Linked DNA regions of Homo sapiens: region 1 is linked to region 2. The links are contacts of gene promoters, found by promoter capture Hi-C in human tissues and cell types (Jung and others, 2019). All regions are on one chromosome and are shown on one strand. Each heading gives the region's core, a stretch centred on a gene start or on the middle of the fragment in contact. The rest is flanking DNA. Distances are from core to core; before and after follow the strand shown. Region 1 overlaps RBM25 (RNA binding motif protein 25). Region 2 holds the start of ACOT4 (acyl-CoA thioesterase 4).

Region 1 (3,011 bases), core at 311-2,810, 530 kb before region 2:
TACCACCTGTTCCAGGCCACCATCTCTCCAGGCTACCATCTCTTATATGGATTATTGTACCAGTCTCTTGCTTGTATCCTGTTCCCTTCCAGGCTTAACACAGTGGCCAGTGATACTGTTAAAATGTGACAAGTCAGAAACTCTTCAAATGATTTTCACCTCATTCAGAGTTAAAACTAAAATGTTTATTTACATTGTGTTACATAGCCCTACACTCTACTCATAATACTCAGTATTTATTTCTGATTTTCTTCATTTATTCTGCTCCAGTCATACTGTTGGCCTTGCTATTCCTCCCTCAAATACACCATTCCTGCTTCAGCCTCTTTGTATTTGTCTTTTCCTTTGCTTGGAAGTCTCTTTCCCCCAGATATGAATAGGGCTTCCTGCCTCTGCCTCTTTTAAATCTTTGTTCTAATCTTCACCTTCTTGGTGAGGCCTAATCGCTGTATTTAAAATAAACTACTCCATAGCTCTCTTCCCTAATTTATTTTTCTACAAAGTACATACCATCTTTCAATGTATTATAATTTATTTTGTTTATCATCTATAGGTAACAGATAAGCTTTGCTTATGATTATGAAAGTTAATTCTCAATCAGTTTCACATGGCAAAACACATAAACCTGTGTTGAAATAAGTAGTTGGTAATCTTTTAGGCTGCTTAAAGTGGACATTAGTATTTATCAAAGATGAGAAATGTTTTCTGATTTTCCATGAGAGACCAATCTTTTTTATTTTTGTTTTGAAATGGAGTCTCGCTCTGTCACCCAGGTTGGAGTGCAGTGGCGCGGTCCCAGCTCACTGCAACCTCTGCCTCCCAGGTTTAAGCAATTCTCCTGCCTCAGTCTCCCGAGTAGCTGGGACTACGGGCGCCTACCACCATTCCTGGCTAATTTTTGTATTTTTAATAGAGACGGGCTTTCACCATGTTGGCCAGTCTGGCCTCGAACTCCTGACCTTGTGATCCGCCCGCCTCAGCCTCCCAAAGTGCTGGGATTACAGATGTGAGCCACCGCGCCCAGGAGAGGCCAGTTATCTTAAAGGAATATCCATAAAAATTAGCTGTTAACTGGTATTTTTGCCTTCACCTTTGAAGTCCAGCCTATCAACAAGCAAGTTTTGGCAGCTCCAAATAAAGGGGAATATGTTATGGAAAAATTTGAAGTGAATGGAATGGGTATATTGGCATAAACGAAAATTAAATATATCTGGTTAACTCTGCAGAATGAATTACACATTTAAAAACCATAAAATATAACTTAAATACCAAGAATATAGAGTTTTACTTTTTTTTTTTTTTTAGACGGAGTCTTACTCTGTCGTTCAGGTTGGAGTGCAGTGGCGCGACCTCGGCTCACTGCAACATCTGCCTCCCAGGTTCAAGCAATTCTCCTGCCTCACCTTCCAGAGTAGCTGGGATTACAGGTGCGCACCACCACACCTGGCTAATTTTGTTTGTTTGTTTGTTTGTTTTCTTTTGAGACAGAGTCTCACTGTGTCACCCAGGCTAGAGTGCAGTGGCGCGATCTCGGCTCACTGCAACCTCGGCCTCCCGAGTTCAAGTGATCTCCTGCCTTTGCCTCTTGAGTAGCTGGGATTACAGGCACCCGCCACCACACCCAGCTAGTTTTTGTATTTTAGTAGAGACGGGGTTTCACCATGTTGGCCGGGCTGGTCTCCAACTCCTGACCTCAAGTGATCGGTCTGCCTCGGCCTCCCAAAGTGCTGGGATTACAGGGGTGAGCCACTGTGCCCAGCTAATTTTTTTTTTTTTTGAAACTGAGTCTTGCTCTGTCGCCAAGGTGGAGTGCAGTGGCGCAGTCTTGGCTCACTGCAACCCCTGCCACCCAGGTTCAAGCAATTCCCCTGCCTCAGCCTCCTGAGTAGCTGGGACTACAGGCGCACACTACCATGCCTGGATAACTTTTTGTATTAGATACGGGGTTTCGCCGTGTTGGCCAGGATGGTCTTGATCTCCTGACCTTGTGATCTGCCTGCCTTGGCCTCCCAAAGTGCTGGGATTACAGGCATGAGCCACCTCACCCAGCCCAGTGTTTATATTTTTAGTGGAGACAGGGGTTTCACCATTTTGGCCAGGCTGGTCTCGAACTCCTGACCTCCAGTGATCTGCCCGCCTTGGCCTCCCAAAGTGCTGGGATTACAGGTGTGAGCCACCGCCCCTGACCGAGAGTTTTAGTTTTTAAGCATTATTTATATCTAATATTATTGGGGGAAAAGTGGTTTTAAAAATGAGTTCATGGCCCAGTCTTGTAACCATTGTGAGGCTAGGCACTGGGCCATTGCTAGAATATAGTATGCGGCATGAGATAGCATAATAAATTTGTTTATTGAAGTCCTCAGAGTTTGTTTACTGATTTATTCATTAATCAGTTTATTCAACAGGTATGAAAACCAACTATCCTAAGAAAGCACTGAGATAGGCTATTATAATGATAATAGAAGAGCTTCTGTAAGTAGGACAGTAGCCCTTTCTGTTTTAAAAAGAGATACCACCCCCAGTTTTTGGTTTTGGTCAAAAAGTTTTACAGAAAGTTTATTTTAAAACTCAACACATTTACAGTCTTGCAATCTTGTGTTTTTCATTGTTAATATGTACTGATAACCTACCTACTGTTTAAAACATTTCTAATACCTCATTTGCCAAGTATATTAAATCCTCCTAAGGGCTGGGCGCAGTGGCTTATACCTGTAATCCCAGCACTTTGGGAGGCCGAGGCCGACGGATCACTTGAGGCCAGGAGTTTGAGACCAGCCTGGCCATACATGGTGAAACCCCGTCTCTACTAAAAATACAAAAATTAGCTGAGCTTGGTCGTGCGTGCCTTGTGGTGTGCACCTGTAATCCTAGCTACTTGGGAGGCTGAGGCAGGAGAATCGCTTGAACCCGACAGGCGGAGGTTTCAGTGAGCTGAGATGGTGCCTCTGCACTCCTGGGTGACAGAGCAAGACTCCATCTCAAAAAAAAAAAAAAAAAAATGCATCCTAGGG
Region 2 (3,350 bases), core at 706-3,205:
GCATGTCTGGAGTTGTTCGTTCCTCCTGGTGAGTTCGTGGTCTGGTAGGCTTCAGAAGTGAAGCTGCGGACCTTCGCAATGAGTGTTACAGCTCACAACAGCAGTGCGGGCCCAAAAACTGAGCTACCTTTATTACAAAACTAAATAGAACAAACCTTCCCGCAACGTAGAAAAGAACCCCAACAAGTTGCCACTGCTAGCTCTGGCAGCCTGCTTTTATTCCCTTATCTGGCCCCACCCACATCCTGCTGATTGGCCCATTTTACAGAGAGCCGATTGGTCCGTTTTGACAGGGTGCTGATTGGTTCGTTTACAATCCCTGAGCTAGACACAAAAGTTCTCCACCTCCCCACTAGATTAGCTAGATACAGAGTGCCGATTGGTGTATTCACAAACCCTGAGCTAGACACAGGGTGCTGATTGGTGTGTTTACAATCCCTTAGCTAGACATAAAGATTCTCCAAGTCCCCACCAGACTCAGGAGTCCAGCTGGCTTCACCCAGTGGATGCCGCACGGGGTTCGCAGGTGGAGCTGCCTGCCAGTCCCGCGCCGTGCGCCCGCACTTCTCAGCCCTTGGGCGGTCGATGGGACTGGGCGTTAGTGGAGCAGGGAGCGGAGCTCGTTGAGGAGGCTCGGACCGCGCAGAAGCTCACGGCGGGGGCGGGGGCTCAGGCATGGCGGGCTGCAGGTCCCGAGCCCTGCGCCGCGGGGAGGCAGCTAAGGCCCGCTGAGAAATCGAGCACAGCAGCTGCTGCCCCAGGTGCTAAGCCCCTCACTGCCCGGGGCTTGCGGGCCGGCCGGCCGCTCCAAGTGCGGGGCCGCCGAGCCCACGCCCACCCGGGACTCGCGCTGGCCCGCAAGCCCCGCGGGCAGCCCCGGTTCCCGCCCGCGCCTCTCCCTCCACACCTCCCAGTAAGCTGAGGGAGCCGACTCCGGCCTTGGCCAGCCCAGAAAGGGGCTCCCACAGTGCAGCGGCGGGCTGAAGGGCTCCTCAAGCGCGGCCAGAGTGGGCGCCAAGGCCGAGGAGGCGCCGACAGCGAGCGAGGGCAGCCAGCATGCTGTCACGTATCACTAGCACTTTGGGACTACAGAGGCAGGAGGATAGTTTGTGCTCAGGAGTTCGAGACCAGCCTGGGAAACAGGGTGACACCTCCTCTCTAAAAATAAACATTTAAAAATTAACGTGGCATGGTGGTGCGCTGTCTGTAGTCACAGCTACTCCGAAGGCTGAGACAGGAGGATCACTTGAGCCTGGGAGGTGGAGGCTGCAGTGACCTGTGATCGAGCCACCGCCTTGCAGCCTGGATGACAGAGAGAGACCCTGTCTCAAATACAACAAAAAAGCAGGCCGGGCGCAGCGGCTCACGCCTGTAATCCCTAGCACTTTGGGAGGCCAAGGCGGGAAGATCACTTGAAGTCAGGAGTTCAAGACCAGCCTGGCCAACATGGTGTAACTCCCTCTTTACTAAAAATACAAAAATTAGCGGCATGGTGGCGCGCGCCTGTAATCCCAGGTACTCGGGAGGCTGAGGCAGGAGAATCGCTTGAACCCAGGAGGCGGAGATTGCAGTGAGCCGAAGCGCCACTGCACTCCAGCCTGGGCGACAGAGGAGACTCTGTTTCAAAAAAAAAAAAAGTTAAAAACAAAACCTTCCATGGAGCCCATGAAAGGCTGGAATTTGGCTTGATCTCATTGGCTTTTGGTTTCACCACAAATTGATCATCCAACAACTTTCATTCCAACAACCGAGGGTGGTGTGAGGCAGAGAGGCTTTCTACGGGGTGGGTTGGGCGCCACACCTTGCGCGCCCCGGGGCCCAAGGAGACGACCCTGAAGAGGAGCCTGGCTACTTTTGCCTCAGACGAGTCCGGAGCGCCGGGTTAACCGGTCTGAAGTCCCAGGGGCTTTCTGGGACTGCTCAGCCACCGGCAGCTTCCGGCACCAGGGGACGCCGGACGCCGTCCGGACATTCGGCGCGCTTGCCACGATCTTGGACGGGTCTCGGGCCTCGACCTTTGAATTCCCCGCTCCGGCTCCAAGATGTCAGCAACGCTGATCCTGGAGCCCCCAGGCCGCTGCTGCTGGAACGAGCCGGTGCGCATTGCCGTGCGCGGCCTGGCCCCGGAGCAGCGGGTTACGCTGCGCGCGTCCCTGCGCGACGAGAAGGGCGCGCTCTTCCGGGCCCACGCGCGCTACTGCGCCGACGCCCGCGGCGAGCTGGACCTGGAGCGCGCACCCGCGCTGGGCGGCAGCTTCGCGGGACTCGAGCCCATGGGGCTGCTCTGGGCCCTGGAACCCGAGAAGCCTTTTTGGCGCTTCCTGAAGCGGGACGTACAGATTCCTTTTGTCGTGGAGTTGGAGGTGCTGGACGGCCACGACCCCGAGCCTGGACGGCTGCTGTGCCAGGCGCAGCACGAGCGCCACTTCCTCCCGCCAGGGGTGCGGCGCCAGTCGGTGCGAGCGGGCCGGGTGCGCGCCACGCTCTTCCTGCCGCCAGGTGAGCCAGGCTGCTGGCGGGTGGTGTGAGCGTCAGTGGCCTGAGTCTCCGTTTGTTTCCAGTGCTGATTTAGCACTGGTTTGGTTTTGGAGCAAGATCAGAGAAGCTAACATTGACTATGTCAGTGGCCACTCTACCAAAATAGAGGGTTTGGTACCGGGCGTGGTGACTAACGCCTGTAATCCCAGCACTTTGGGAGGCCGAGATGGGCGGATCACTTGAGATCAGGAGTTTGAGACCAGACTGGCCAGCATGGTGAAACGCTGACTCTACCGAAAATACAAAAATTAGTCCAGCCTGGTGGCACACGCCTGTAGTCCCAGCCACTCGGGAGGCTGAGGCACGAGAATCGCTTGAACCTGGGAGATGGAGGTTGCAGTGAGCCGAGATCGCACCACTGCACTCCAGCCTGGGTGACAGAGCGAGACTCCGTCTCAAAAAAAGAAAAAAGAAAAAAAAGGATTTTTTGTTAGGCTGTGTACTACGGTTTTTACTTGCATTCTATCAGTTAGTCTCTATAATATCCCAATGAAGTTGGTATTGTTATTCTGCAGATGAAAAAACAGGTTCAGGTCGTCAGGTACATTATCCACTTTGCTATTAATCACTACCCTACAGATTTCTACAGGCATCAGCCTGACTTGTCTAAGGCAGAATGATGACAGTGAATGAAGCTATTACCATGTCGTCTTCTCTAGTGTTCTAGGCACACTGTCTCTTCTCCACTTCTTCATGTGCTGCTTTATCACAGGTCACACTTCAGACTCCACTGCCTTTCTCACCTAAAACCATCTCTGGGTATTTCTTTTTCTTTCCTCCCTTTCTACATAGACATCTGAAATATCAGTACA

The links. Contacts are between HindIII fragments. The study calls those that stand out against the background at their distance.
Region 1: a contact is called between a fragment that was not itself captured here and the fragment with the promoter of ACOT4 in region 2, in 1 of the 25 tissues and cell types used here (dorsolateral prefrontal cortex).

What each region holds. Positions count from the first base shown.
Region 1 is chr14:73,063,667-73,066,677 of GRCh38, forward strand. The region is part of intron 1 of RBM25 (RNA binding motif protein 25); the gene reads left to right. Among named protein-coding and RNA genes, the nearest start is that of RBM25-AS1, 5.7 kb to the left of the region's middle. RefSeq lists enhancers at 1,282-1,782, 1,783-2,283. The HindIII fragment of the contact is 8,376 bases long and covers 1-3,011 here.
Region 2 is chr14:73,589,918-73,593,267 of GRCh38, forward strand. It overlaps ACOT4 (acyl-CoA thioesterase 4), which reads left to right and starts at 1,956. Exons shown (of 3, transcript NM_152331.4): 1 at 1,956-2,499. The coding sequence starts at 2,043. It also overlaps a transcript of HEATR4 not described here. RefSeq lists an enhancer at 2,190-2,689 and a silencer at 2,501-2,570. The HindIII fragment of the contact is 17,984 bases long and covers 1-3,350 here.